3 separate regions of the Homo sapiens genome follow, and all the other regions are linked to region 1. The links are contacts of gene promoters, found by promoter capture Hi-C in blood cells and fetal thymus (Javierre and others, 2016). All regions are on one chromosome and are shown on one strand. The core of a region is centred on a gene start or on the middle of the fragment in contact, and the rest is flanking DNA. Distances in the headings are between cores, read along the strand shown.

Evidence for each region. The method cuts DNA at HindIII sites, captures the fragments that hold promoters and counts their contacts. A CHiCAGO score of 5 or more calls a contact.
Region 2: a fragment that was not itself captured here is called in contact with the fragment with the promoter of PARP1 in region 1 in 1 of 17 cell types (neutrophils); the score reaches 7.2 in neutrophils.
Region 3: a contact is called between a fragment that was not itself captured here and the fragment with the promoter of PARP1 in region 1, in 1 of 17 cell types (total CD4 T cells). The highest score is 5.3, in total CD4 T cells.

Annotation. Positions count from the first base shown.
Region 1 is chr1:226,405,892-226,410,659 of GRCh38, forward strand. It overlaps PARP1 (poly(ADP-ribose) polymerase 1), which reads right to left and starts at 2,202. Exons shown (of 23, transcript NM_001618.4): 1 at 1,919-2,202. The coding sequence starts at 2,038. RefSeq lists enhancers at 767-826, 2,417-2,546, 2,725-2,869, silencers at 1,777-1,876, 2,127-2,386 and a cis regulatory region at 2,797. The HindIII fragment of the contact is 6,506 bases long and covers 1,052-4,768 here.
Region 2 is chr1:222,700,737-222,705,504 of GRCh38, forward strand. AIDA (axin interactor, dorsalization associated) reads right to left here. Exons shown (of 10, transcript NM_022831.4): 2 at 2,412-2,481. Among named protein-coding and RNA genes, the nearest start is that of AIDA, 9.4 kb to the right of the region's middle. The HindIII fragment of the contact is 807 bases long and covers 1,745-2,551 here.
Region 3 is chr1:229,631,763-229,636,530 of GRCh38, forward strand. URB2 (URB2 ribosome biogenesis homolog) reads left to right here. Exons shown (of 10, transcript NM_014777.4): 3 at 507-683; 4 at 3,155-4,768. Among named protein-coding and RNA genes, the nearest start is that of URB2, 7.9 kb to the left of the region's middle. RefSeq lists enhancers at 4,042-4,543, 4,544-4,768. The HindIII fragment of the contact is 2,106 bases long and covers 890-2,995 here.

The sequences.
Region 1 (4,768 bases), core at 952-3,451:
GATCGCTTGAGCTCAGGAGTTTGAGACCAGCCTGGGCAACATAGTGAGACCCCATCTCAAAAAACAAAACAAACAAAAAGGCTCGAAAAGGAAACACTGAGATAATTATCAAAACATTTGAAAGGTAATTTGGGTACAGTAACCCGTGAGCTTTTAAGCATTAAATAACAAGATCTAGTACAGCCTCTAATAACTGTGATTTTTGTAGCAATGAGAGTAAATTATATTTTGAAAAACTTCCAACTGTAAAGTGATATGAAAATATCTGTAATTATCACTGGTGAAAAAAAAATAGGGACTGCTAATATGCCTTTGCTTTGCTGCTTACATTTATGATTAGAGGAAATAATTTTATCTAGAGGTTAGTGGAGATGGAGATATCAATTTTTTCTTATCTAAACTCATGGACCTCTTGCCTTCTACCTACCATCCCACAGACCCTGGGTTAAGAGCTCCTGCACCAGGAGTGAGAACTTCATAACAGGCTGCCTTGTATATTCAAAGTAAGTTCTAGGTTCCTTAGTGGGCAACAAGGCTCTTCAAATTGTAGGCCCTGTCTACTTCCCTATTCTCATCTTTCTGCTCCACTTCTGTGAATTAACGACTCCTAATCAAGCTTCCACCCTTAGCTGGGTCATCTCGGACTCCTAGGCACACAATGCCTAGAGCACAGCTCCATCAGGTGGCATCCATCCTCTCTTACGGTAACGTTTGTTTACCAGTCATTTCCCGTTTAACCAAACTGGAAATTCCCAAAGGTGGATTCTGTGTCCTTAAAACCTAACAGAGTGCTTAGAACTTAAAAAATGCCTACCAAATAAGCACTGTGTGCCACGTACTGACTTAGGTATGCCCCGAGGACACCAAGATGACAGGCATATTGTGAAATAAGATAACGGAAGTACACCTGGCACTTGGGTATCCACTCGGTAAATGTCGCCCTCCCTTGTACTAAGTACTGAAAATCCACTGAGGGATATCTGGTCATTCCTAAAACACATTACAGCTCATGGAAGGGAGGAAAATCAAGCTACCTTGACCATGAGCACTAAGCTTGGGTAATATGTTGGAAGCGAGGAGGAACAGGGCAGATGAGAACCAGAATTATTAATACAAAGGTAGACATCGGCAAACTGGAAGCTGGAGGCAGGAGCCCCTGGGAAATGACAGGGGCCTTCAAGCCCACCACCTCACAGAAGGCTCAGGAAACCTCAGAAGGGGATTCAATCTATCAAAAAGCCCACATGAGAAACCCCCCTGGAGCCACTCTTACTCAAACCAGACAGCTGCAAATGCACCAAGAGAACGCGTCTGTGAATCTGGAAAATTTGGGGAAAATGTTACTTTAAAGCACAAATTAGGCTCAAAGTGAATGTACTGTACAGAAATGACACCTTTCTGCATAGTTCTGCCTAATTAAAATAAAAAATGAGAGTGAGCGTTTAAATGACGTGTTGAAATGACTGCCAAAAATAGGTTTAACAAAAAAAAAAAAAACCCACATGTCAGTCGCCACCATCCATGTAGAACAAAAACCCTCCAGAACAAGATAGGTCAAAATCAGATTAGCTTAAAGAGACCATGTACAATTCCCCCCCAACCCCTGAGGCGAACGGCAGTAATAAAACACCGCCACCCAGAAAGGAGAAGAGAAGAGGCTCCTCGTTTTCACAAAGCGAAAGGCAACACCAGCTGCAGACTTTATTTCCCGGGCTTTTCCTGCAACATCAGCAAAACCTTCCGGAAGGGTCGGCCGGGCCGCTCGGGAGGAGGGGCGGCCGCGGCCCCATAGGCCCCAAGTGCCGCTCCGAGGGCCCGGGCCCGCTCGCTCCCTGGGCCCGCCCTCCCCCAGCCTTCCCGGACACAGTTAACCCGGGGCGCCGCGTCCCCGCCCCGCCGCCCGCACAGCGGCCCGCACCTGCACCATGATGGCCATCCGGAGCGAGTCCTTGGGGATGCTCTCGCTGCATTTCTTGCAAGAGGCGCGCCCGCTCTTGGCGTACTCGACTCGATAGAGCTTATCCGAAGACTCCGCCATCCTCCCCTAGCTGCCGCCAAAGCTCCGGAAGCCCGACGCCACGACCTAGAAACACGCTGCCGCCTCGCCGCCTCGCGTGCGCTCACCCAGCCGCAGGCGCCTGAGCGGCCAGAGCCGCCACCGAACACGCCGCACCGGCCACCGCCGTTCCCTGATAGATTGCTGATGCCTGGCCGCGGGAACGCCCACGGAACCCGCGTCCACGGGGCGGGGCCGGCGGCGCGCGCGCCCCCTGCCGGCCGGGGGGCGGAGTTTCCCGGGCGCCTGCCGGGTGGAGCTCTGCGGGCCGCTGCCCTGGGGGCCGAGGCGGGGCTTGGGCTGAGCTAGTAGCTCTTTGGAGGACCCGGCGCCACCCCTTTGATTGTTCTGTCCCAGGAAGTCTTACTTGATTTCACAACTAATTTTACCCCCAACCCCTCCCCCTTTTATTTTTGAGACTGAGTCTCACCGCGCTGGAGTGCAGTGCCGCCATCATGGCTCACTGCAGTCTGGAACTCCTGAGCCCAGCGATCCTCCCACCTCAGCCTCCCGAGTAGCTGGGACTACAGGCGCTCACCACAACTGGCTAATTAAAAAAAAATTTTTTTTAGGGACAGGGTCTCGCCAAGTTGGCTAGACTGGTCTCAAACTCCTGCTACAAGTGATCTTCACGCCTCAGCCTCCCGAAGTGCTGGGATCAGGGGCATGAGCTACCACGCCGGCCCCAAACTCTTAAGTGTGTCCTCTCTCCCCTGAGGGCAGCTGGGTCCGGGAAGCGCAGGCCCCCGCCTCGGGAATATAGTTGATTGGCCCGAGGTGGACCCTGCAGTGCTAGGTCCACCCTCCTGGCTTGGACGGGCGTTCTAACCTGCCGTCCACAGACCGTCGGGACAAAATACCAACTGAAACCTAGCATTTCCTTTATTATGAATTTGACTACAAATACCAGGAGTATTAGCAGTACCTGTGACTTTGTGGGCAATAGTCATCACAGACGTTTTCATGTTACTTTACAGTTGTTGGTGATAACTCGAAATATTATTAAGCTCATCACTACTCGAAATTGTGGTAATGACTGCACCTGTTGCTATCAGATATTTTGTGTGTGTGTGTGTGTGTGTGTGTAAAGAAAGAGATGGGGAATCTCTCCATGTTGCCCAGGCTGGTCTTGAACCCCTGGCCTCAAGCAATCCTCCCACCTCGACTTCCCAAATTGCTGGGATTACAGGCATGAGCCACTGCACCTGGCCTAGATCTTGTTGTTTAATATAGAACTATACTTCAAAATATAGTTTATTAAAATTGGTTTCTTTTCTAATCCTATGCATTTTTTTTTTTCATTTCAAAGATTGTAACATGAGTGTGCTTTATTTGAAAATATTCAATTCTGGTATAGAGGATAAGAAAAATAAGCAGATGAATAAAACTCATAAAAAGTGTTAACCATAGAGAAGAAGCTAGTGGCTTAAGAGACAAGGATGTTGAGTAAGCAAGAAGGTTGTGAGACATAGGCCGAATCCTAAAAGTTAGTAACCAGTTAGATACGTTGAAGGTAGGCTGGGCACAGTGGCTCATGCCTATAATCCTAGCACTTTGGGAGGCTGAGGTGGCCGGATCCCTTGAGCCCAGGAGTTCAAGACCAGCCTGGACAACATGGCAAAACCTTGTCTCTACAAAAATTAGCTGGGGGTGGTGGCAGGTGCCTGTAGTCCCATCTACTCGGGAGGCTGAAGTGGGAGGATCACCTGAGCCCTGAAGGTTGAGGCTGTGGTGAGCCATGATAGTGCCACTGGACTCTAGCCTGGGTGACAGTGTGACCCTGTCTCAAAAAAAAAAAAAAAAGATATTTTGAAGGTAAACAGAATAAGTGGAAAATATGATGGAACAAATAAAAGTTTTACTTAGAGAATGACCAAGTCAAAAGGCATGATCATGCCATCTCTGGGTTGACAACTATATCATCCCTAAATGGCCACTCATTGGTGATAAGATTATGGTCCCATCCTGGCACCCATATGCTCTGCCCCAAAAATGCAGCTAAAGTTCAGGTCTGTTCAGCAGGCTGATTGGTGAGCTGCAGCTGTGGCTGAGTGTGCTTGCACTTGTGTCTCTCTGATAGTGCAGTGTGAGTTGCTCCAGGTACCCTCTGTTGAGCCGCCTTGAGCATCCTCAACTCTGTCAGTGGGACAGGCTGATGCGGCAGAGAGAGGGAAAACATATCAATATTAGCCAGGTGCAGTGGCTCATGCCTGTAATCCCAGCGCTTTGGGAATCTGAGGCGGGTGGATCACCTAAGGTCAGGAGTTCAAAACCAGCCTGGTCAACATGGTGAAACCCCGTCTCTACTAAGAATACAAAAATTAGCTGGGCATTGTGGTGCGTGCCTGTAATCCCAGCTACTCGGGAGGCTGAGGCATGAGAATCGCTTGAACCCAGGAGGTGGAAGTTGCAGTGAGCCGAGATCACGCCATTGCACTCCAGCCTGGGCAACATAGTGAGACAGTCTCAAAAAAAGAAAAGAAGAGAAAAGGGGAGGGGAGGGGAGGATGGGAGGGGAGGGGAGGATGGGAGAGGAGGGGAGGAGGGGAGGGGAGGGGAGGGGGAAGGGGGGAGGGGTGGGAGGGGAGGGGAGGGGAGGATTCCCTAATTCTAGGTTCTGGTGGTGTGGTCCATCTGCCTCGCCTGTACCCTATCCTGTGTATGTTATGCACCCCATCGAGTTCTTGCTGTAAGTGGTTTTAAACTGATTCA
Region 2 (4,768 bases), core at 898-3,397, 3.7 Mb before region 1:
AGAGCAAGACTCCGTCTCAAAAAAAAAAAAAAAGATCTGCGGGTCTTTGCAACCAAAGATAAGCTGAAAAAAGACAGTGGCCATGTGGCTGCTAAGGAATAGCTATAAATTTAAAACTAAATAGCTTTATCAAACACCAGCTTCAGCCTTAGAAAGTTGAAGAAAATTAAGAAAAAGTTAATTTTTTCTCATCAGTCTAATCATTATACGATAGACTCATTTCTTGATTTTTTTTGGGGGGGGGGGGACAGGGTCTCACTGTGTCGCCCAGGCTGGAGTGCAGTGGCATGATCTCAGCTCACTGCAATCTCCGCCTCCCGAGTTCAGGTGATCCTCCCACCTCAGCCTCCCAAGTAGCTGGAACTACAGGCTTACACCACCACGCCTACCTAATTTTTGTATTTTCAGTAGAGATGGGGTTTCACCATGTTGCCCAGGCCGGTCTTGAACTCCTGGGCTGAAACAATCTTCCCAACTCGACCTCCCAAAGTGCTAAGATTACAGGCATGTGGCACCATGCCCAGTGGTATTTTTCTTTAAATATAATTTTTGGTGTGTTTTAGGTCAAATCACTTTATATTTGAGGTCATTTGGCTCAGAAGTCCTATACCTCAGCAATATATGTTGGAAACAGGATGCAAGTAACTCAAACAGGTGATTAAAGATTAAACATTTTTTAATTCCTTAAGTTTTCATTCTGTTTCCATATTCATAACACATTCTGATAGCTATTAATTTATATATGTGGCTATCTGTGATTCTGTTTATCAAAATTTAGGTACTGTAACTCCCAATTCTGTGATGCCAGCTGATCATTTCCTAATCAATTCCTAGAGAAATTTCAGATTTTACAGAGGCTCCTTTCCTTAAGCAAATCAGTAATTTCCACTGTGGTCATTATTTTCCAGGGCTAAAATCCTAAGACTCCTAATATCTATTGTGTATATTAGGAGCTACTAAGAAAAAAAAATATTCTTTTTTTAAAAATTTATTTATTTTCAAGACAAGAGTCTTGCTCTGGCTGTCGCGCAGGCTGGAGTGCAGTGGTGCTATCTCAGCTCACTGCAACCTCTGCCTCCCAGGTTCAAGTGATTCTCTTGCCTCAGCCTCCCTAGTAGCTGGGATTACAGGCACACACCACTACACTCAGCTAATTTTTGTATTTTTAGTAGAGACGGGGTTTTACCATATTGGCCAGGCTGGTCTCGAACTCCTGACCTCAAGTGATCTGCCCACCTCGGCCTCCCGAAGTGCTGGGATTACAGGCGTAAGCTACCACACCCAGCCAAAAAAAAAAAAAATTCTTTTAAATTGTAGTGATTTTTGTTTTTTAAATACAAAATAAAAAAGTACATTAGATAAAGTAGATCCTAAATATTTTTAAAATGCAAATATACAAACTTGTGTAAGAAATGTGGCAACCCTAATCTTTAGGGGCTTCTTCTTCCCAAATTCCTATAAATAAGAGTCAAATGAACGTAGATGAATAGACTAAAATGGATGTTGTTAGGCTTACCATAAAAGTGTGGAAAAATCATTACCACTCCCTTTGTACATTCCCTTTGTAAAGAATAAGAGCAAATTATGTTGCCATAGTTTTCACACTGTCTTTTCTTAAGAGATGGGGAATAGACTGACACTTTTTTTTTCATTATCTACAAGATTAAACATTGACTTAACACTAGATACTCTGAGCCAAGAGATAATGGGAGTTGTTTCCTCCCATTCCTTCTAACTCTTTTAAAGCTTCAGTCGCCCATTTTTCATAATCACTAACAGTTTAGAAACTCAACTTGACACACAAAAAATTTAATTCAAGGAGAAAAGGCACGATTGAAACATTTTGCAACCTTACGCATTTATTTTGCAGATGGATTTTTATGCCAAATTCTTGACTTGAACTAATTGTTTTCAGTGGAGAGGTGTTTTGGTTTGTCTTGGTCTTTTGTTTTTTGTGTGTATTTGTTTGTTCTGAGAGAAGGTAGACAGGAGTTAGGAAAGTTCAGAATCAAGTAAGTGCTGGGGTGGAATGCAATTACCCACAATCTTTCTATTTTCCCAAGGACTCTAGACACACTCCAGTCTCTGGGTTTCCCCAGTCTTCACCAAAGTGTGGACTGGGTTCTCCCCCTCTTCAGCGAAAGCATGAATGGTCTCCACTAAAGTTAAGCAAAGTTAAGCAAAGCCTAAATGGCTGAGTACAACAATTGTATTGCTTTAAATTGATAAGTCATATGGTATCTCTAAATAATCACTTAATGTTAGGCAAAGCATAATCAATATCATTCTTTTTACTTAAGTATAACAGTTTTTTGTTTTTGTTTTGTTGTTTTTTGTTTTGCTTAATGAACTCAAAAGACAAAACACTTTTTGTTTGGAATCTGATATATCTAGAGATTATTTTATGGTACCTTTTGTTCTTCTGTGAATTCAGAATTATTGTGTTGAGCTTGGGCCTCCTTTTGTAGATGTCTTGCTAATCTGTAAGAAGAAAACATATTCTTTAGAATGGAAGAAAAGCAAACTACTGCAACAAAGTGTAACAATTTAAAGCTTTTTAACATGTGAAGTACAATTATTGTCCTGTTTTTAAAATACAAATCTACATTGAGAACCAAATTCTTCTCAAAAAAAAAAAAACTCTTTATACAATGATGATGAAAATAAGATACAATACTTTTCATACCATTTCACTGGGACAAACTTCAGCTCTAGGCAGTAAAAACAGAGCTGGAAAGAATCTCAAAGGGCATCTAATCCAACTTTCTTTAGTATGCATGACTTTCTTCTATAATAAGCCAATAAGTAGTTGTCCAGATTCTGCTTAAACACTTCCAGGGAGCACCAGTGATTATACCAACCAGAGATACTTTATCAGTCTGTCATTGATTTGGTAGTAAAATTAGTCCTAATCCAAATTACAGCAATGACAAAGTGGTAATAATCCATCCTACTATCAATATATACTTTTGAAAACATGTTTTCATGGAAAATAAAGCAAATTCTCCACCAATCAGCAACAGAAATCATTGTCCAATTATCATTATACTTAAAAATAACAGCTAGGCCTTGCATGAGTTTTTAGTGGATGGATCTATATTATTAGTCCAAGCTCAACAATAAGGACCCAAAGTTATTTCTGAGACAGCAAAAAACTTGTATAGTTTAGTTTGTAAAAGTCAACCCTCTTACAAACTAAACTATAAAACTATGGTCTCAACTATAAAAAGACCAATTTTGGACAAAGGATTTGAATAGATAGTTCTCCAAAGAAGACATAAAATGGTCAATAAGCACATGAAAAGATGATCAACATTACTAGTCATTATGAAAACACAGATCAAAATCACAATGAGCTATCACTTCATACCCACTAGAATGAGTACAATTTTTTAAAAAATGGAACTGCATCCTTATGGGGGAAAGAGAGAGAAGACAACAGGTACTGACAGGATGTGAAAAACTGGAACCCTCAGATATTGCTGGTGGGAATGTAAAATGGCACCAGCCACTGTGGAAAACAATTTGGCCATTCCTCAAAAAGTTAAATATAGACTTACTGTATGACCCAGCAATTTCAAAATCCTAGGTATATATCCAAGAGAACTGAAAAACCATATGTTTACACACAAAAAAACTGAACACAAATGTACAGCCAAAAAGTGAAAACTACCAAAATGTCCATCAACTGATGGACAAAATGTGGTATATCCATTCAATGGAAAATTATTCAGTCAAAAAGAGGAATGAAGTACTACTAACATGTGTAACACAGATGAACTTCAAAAACATTATGCTAAATGAAAAAAGCCAGATGCAAAAGATTATACGTTATATGATTCCATTTATATGAAATGTCCAGACTAGATCAATCCACAGAGACAAAAAGCAGATTAGTGGTTGCCAGGAGATGAGGGAACTGGGAGTAACTGATACCAAGTATGGGGTTTCTTTCGGGAGTGATGGGAATGTTCAGGAATTAGACAGTGGAAATGGTTGTACAACACTGTGAATACACTAAAAACCATGGAATTGTACGCTTTAAACTGGTAAGTTTCATGTGATGTGATATTTATCTCAATTTTAAAAAAATATATGAGAAAAAACTGGCATAAGAATTTGAAAATTAAACTCCCAAGCATATTATGTACTATTCTGGGTGGGCAATAGGAACAGGAATACAAAGGGTAGCAAGTGCTAGATTTTCTACCAAGCCAACTGCAGGAAATAGTTTATGTTTCCAAATAAAATGTACTAGATGGGAGTTCTATGCAATCATGTCTTTAAAGATAAGGCATAAAGTACCTTATTCTTGATGGCCTCTATCCAATTTATGAAAGGTTTGCATCCTCCTTAACATAAGGCAATAATTAGCTTCAAAAAAACTTAATATTTGCAAGATAGCTCCACTGTGTTACTTAGTCGAACTGCTTCTATTCATTTATTTCTTTTCTCCCAAAGCTGGAAGCCTCATAATATTTTCCCTAAAATGTCATTCATAGACTCACTTTTTGTGGATTCTATACAGGAGAAGGTACAAATAGAAACAATATAGCCATTGTCTTTGTTCTGTACTTGGTTTCTTTTCTAACTCTTACTGGCCTACCACCTACATGGAGTACTCCCGAGTAATCTATACACTGTATCCTTAACAACATCAACTATACATCCCTGAACTCAGGGAAGTTACAGTGTGGAATGAGTTTCTTTGAGTAATTCTACACATAATTTGCAGTGGTGGCCATCAACCTAAGCAGAATCACTGTCA
Region 3 (4,768 bases), core at 693-3,192, 3.2 Mb after region 1:
CATCAGTGATCACTGGTCACAGAGTACCTTAACAAATATAAGAATGGAAAAGTTGGAAATACTGGGAGAATTACCAAAATGTGGCAGAGACATGAAGCAAGCACATGCTGTTGGAATAAAGGATCTGATAGACTTGCTTGGCACAGGGTTGCCATAAACCTCCAATTTGTAAATGCAATATCTGTATCTACAAGGCACAATAAAATGAGGTATGCCTGTATAACCTCAAAAAACGGGTTAAGACGTGTTAGTTTCACCTGAAACTTTTAATTTGCCCTAGCTGAAGACAAATTTGTTGTTTTCCTGTTCTTATCCTTTAATAATAAACATTTTAAAATACCAGAACACGTAAGTAATATTATCAAAGGTAAGTTGTAAAAGAGAGGTTCTCCCCCGCCGCCCCCGTGGCAATTGGATTTGCTTATACCTGTAATGTCCCTATAATGTCTAACATCTTTCTCTCAGCAAATAAATTTATTTTCAGTGTATGTGTCCTTCAAATTCAGGTGTTACTTGATTGGGCAAGACAATCATTGGTTGCATTTTATAAGAAAAAGCTTGAACTGAAGGAAGATATTGTTGAAAGGCTTTGGATCTATATAGATAACATTTTACATAGCAGAAAATTGCAGAATCTCCTCAAGAATGGAAAGACCATTAATCTTCAGATTTCCCTAGTCAAGGTAATTCACTTTTCTGTTCTGTATGTGTTGCATGCATCTCCATTGATTTCTTGTTAATGCTGGAAACTTGTTTTAGTGTCAATTGTATGAAGATATAGGAAATACTAAGGTAGGAGAAAAAGGATGTAATATTATTGGAATTAAAATAGTAACTATTGAATGTGTATCATATGCTCTAAGCATTTTGTTATTTAATATTCAAAAAAAGCTTGGAACGATTTCATAAACAGGTCATTGATTACCTTTTTAATTGGAAAAGGTAGCTAGCAAATTATGCTTCTCTGATTTGTTTTTCTTCTTCTTTACCTTTCTTTTGGGCTAGAGGGAGATCAAAGGCCAAAATCCGGACAGGAATTTCCTCAAAGGTTTTTTTTTTTTTTTTTTTTGCCACTACGGCCTTCGAGCCACAAGTGCCACTAGTGGCTTGGCCGGCAACCCGGGGCCACCTCAGTTTTTGACTGAAAGTGATTTTGAAGTCTCAGATCAGAAGTAGGAACTTCATTGTCAAAACTGAGTGTGTTTAAATACCATGAGAATAGCTAGATACAATAAAAACTACTACTAGTGAGCACTTCATGTGTGCCAGGCTCAAAGAAGTTTAACTTTCCTAAAGTCACATGGCTAGTTAGTGGCACAGCTGGGATTTGAACCTCACTCTGCCTGAGTGTAAATCCTGGGCTATGAAGCCATAACACTGCCTCACCCTCATGAGTGTGCGGGCTGAGAGAAAATCGTTAGAGGCTAGTAACGGAGGGGAACGAAGGTTGAGCTGCCCAATGGCGCATAGGGCTTAATGGTTCTTGAGATTGTGTTCCAAACTGGGTCACTTTTTAAAATAATAAACCAGTGGTCACCAAAGTGGCTTATTTCAAAGGATCTTTTGGAATATGGGAAGAAAATCTTAGAATGTCTCCTTGTTTAAAAAGCCATACTTAAATTTTATTTTTATGTATGCTTCATAATTATATAAAATGTTAGTGCTGCAGCATATGTGCATAATTTATAAATAAATTACACTTATTGAATATAAATGCAGGAAAAATCGATGAGTTGTATCATCATCAAAAATTTGGAGATCACTGTAATAGTGCATTGACATTTAAGGATTTCTCATCTTTGTTACAGCGTTTCCAGAGTAACTTTAAAAGCCAGCAATTACTTGAATAGAAATTATAATACCTATCTCATTAGGGCACTGATAACTTAGCACCTGGGATAGGTTTGGTTCTCAGATTCCATAAGGCTGGGAGCAAGTAACTTAACCTGTGACTGAATTATAGAATCTGCCTGATTCTCATAATTTCTGGTGTTTGTGAATTTTGGAATTTTGAGAGCAGTAGACAATAGATTTGCTGTATAATAAGCAGTAGCAACATAACATTTGCTTTCCTTTTTAAAAAATTTTTTTGAGATAGAGTCTCTGTCACCCAGGCTGGAGTGCAGTGGTGTGATCTTGGCTCACTGGAACCTCTGCCTCCTGGGTTCAAGCGATTCTTGTGCCTCAGCCTCCCGAGTAGCTGGGACTACAGGTGTGCACCACCATGCTCGGCTAATTTTTATATTTTTAGTAGAGATGGTGTTTCACCATGTTGACCAGGCTGTTCTCGAACGCCTGGCCTCAAGTGATCCGCCCCGACTCAGCCTCCCAAGGTGTTGGGATTACAGGCATGAGCCACCATGCCCAGCTGCTTTCCTTTTTAAAAGAGTGCCTTTTGCTTTGGCTTTTTTAAATAGAAAAAGTATAATTGACTATAAACATGCATTTTTTTTTCTTTTTTCAGACAGGGTCCCGCTCTGTCACCCAGGCTGGAGTGCAGTGGCTCGATCCCAGCTCACTGCAACCTCTGCCTCCCAGGTTCAAGCAGTTCTCCTGCCTCAGCCTCCCAAGTAGCTGGGATTACAGCTGCCTGCCACCATGCCCGGTTAATTTTTTCATTTTTAGTGGAGTCAGGTTTCACCACGTTGGCCAGGCTGTTCTCAAACTCCTGACCTCAAGTGATCCGCCTGCCTCGGCCTCTCAAAGTGCTGGGATTACGGGTGTGAGGCACTGTGCCTGGCCTATAAACATGTATTTTGGACCACAAGATCATAATTTAAGTGCAACTTTCCCTCTGCCTGGTAACATCTAAGCTCAATTGCAGGTTTAGGATCTAAGAGAAAGTGACATTTGGTATTTAAGCCCTTTAAAACCCAGCTTTAAAAAAAGGGACAGCAAATTTACAAAGGCACGGATCCTTTTCTAGATTTGCATTGGTAGAAGATGGATGGGTGGAGGAATTGAAACAGATGCTTTGCCTTATTTTGATGCACTAAGCTTATGTCAGGTTCATTGAAATATGGTAATCTGGGCATTTCTTTCTTACCAAGATGAGGGAAAGGGGTGAGTTTGTTGATTTTTTTTTTTAATACTTTTCTTGTGTATGTATGGGTTTAAGGTCAGTAATGAATTTTCTTTCTTTCTTAATGTTCAGATCATCAATGAGAGAGTAGCTGAGTTCTCTCTTTCGGGATCCCAAAGAAACATCTGTGCTGTCCTTCGATGTTGCCAGGGCATCCTGTCGACACCTGCCCTGGCTGTCATCTACACGGCCAAACAGGAGCTGATGGTGGCCTTGCTGAGCCAGCTTTGCTGGTCGGCCTGCAGGCAGCCCGAAGGAGCTGTGGTAGCCCAGTTGTTTGAGGTCATTCACCTGGCCCTTGGCCATTATCTCTTGATCCTGCAGCAGCAGGTCAACCCAAGACGTGCCTTTGGGGATGTGACTGCTCACCTGCTCCAGCCGTGCCTGGTCCTGAGGCACTTACTCTCTGGGGGCACATGGACGCAGGCTGGCCAGGGCCAGCTGAGGCAGGTGCTGAGCCGGGACATCAGGAGTCAGATTGAGGCCATGTTCCGAGGAGGGATTTTTCAGCCTGAGCTACTGTCATCCTACAAGGAGGGGCTCTTGGACCAGCAGCAAGGGGATGTGAAGACGGGAGCCATGAAGAACCTTCTGGCTCCCATGGACACCGTGCTTAACAGGCTGGTTGATGCTGGCTACTGTGCAGCATCCCTTCATACCTCTGTTGTGGCCAACTCAGTGGCCTTGCTGTATAAGCTCTTTCTAGATTCTTACTTTAAGGAGGGAAACCAGCTTCTCTGCTTCCAGGTTCTCCCCAGGTTGTTTGGCTGCTTGAAGATTTCACACCTGCAGGAGGAGCAGAGCAAAGCCCTGTCCACATCAGATTGGACCACAGAGCTTTTGGTTGTGGAACAGCTACTAAACTCAGTGGCCAACAACAATATCTACAACATCGCTGCCGACAGAATTCGGCACGAAGAGGCTCAGTTCCGCTTTTACCGCCACGTGGCTGAGCTGCTGATAAACCATGCACAAGCACCCATACCGGCCTGGTTCCGCTGTCTGAAGACTTTGATATCTCTGAATCATTTGATTTTGGAGCCAGACCTGGATGACCTGCTGGCTTCAGCGTGGATCGATGCCGAGGTAACAGAGTTTCGAACCAAAAAAGCCCAGGAGGCGCTTATTCGTACTGTCTTCCAGACTTATGCCAAACTCCGACAAGTGCCACGGTTGTTTGAAGAGGTTTTGGGGGTGATCTGTCGTCCAGCTGCTGAGGCACTGAGGCAGCCTGTGCTGGCCTCGGGCCCCTCCACGGTACTCTCTGCATGCCTCCTGGAGCTGCCTCCAAGTCAGATCCTGGACACGTGGTCCCTTGTGCTGGAGAAGTTCCAGTCTTTAGTCTTGCCCTATTTGCAGAGTGATGCCGACATGGCCCTGAAATCACTGTCACTGAGCTTGCTGCTGCACTGCATCATGTTCAACATGAGGAGCCTGGACAGCAGCACGCCTCTGCCCATTGTCAGACGGACACAGTGCATGATGGAGAGGATGATGAGGGAGCTCGTGCAGCCCCTGCTGGCCCTTCTCCCGGACACCCCAGGCCCAGAGCCAGAGCTGTGGCTGCAGAAGGTCAGTGACTCTGTGCTCCTGCTCTCTTACACTTGGGCCCAGGTGGACGCTATGTTCAGTTTGAACTGTAGCCAGTATCACTCTATGTCTGGGCCCCTTATAGGTGTTGCTCTG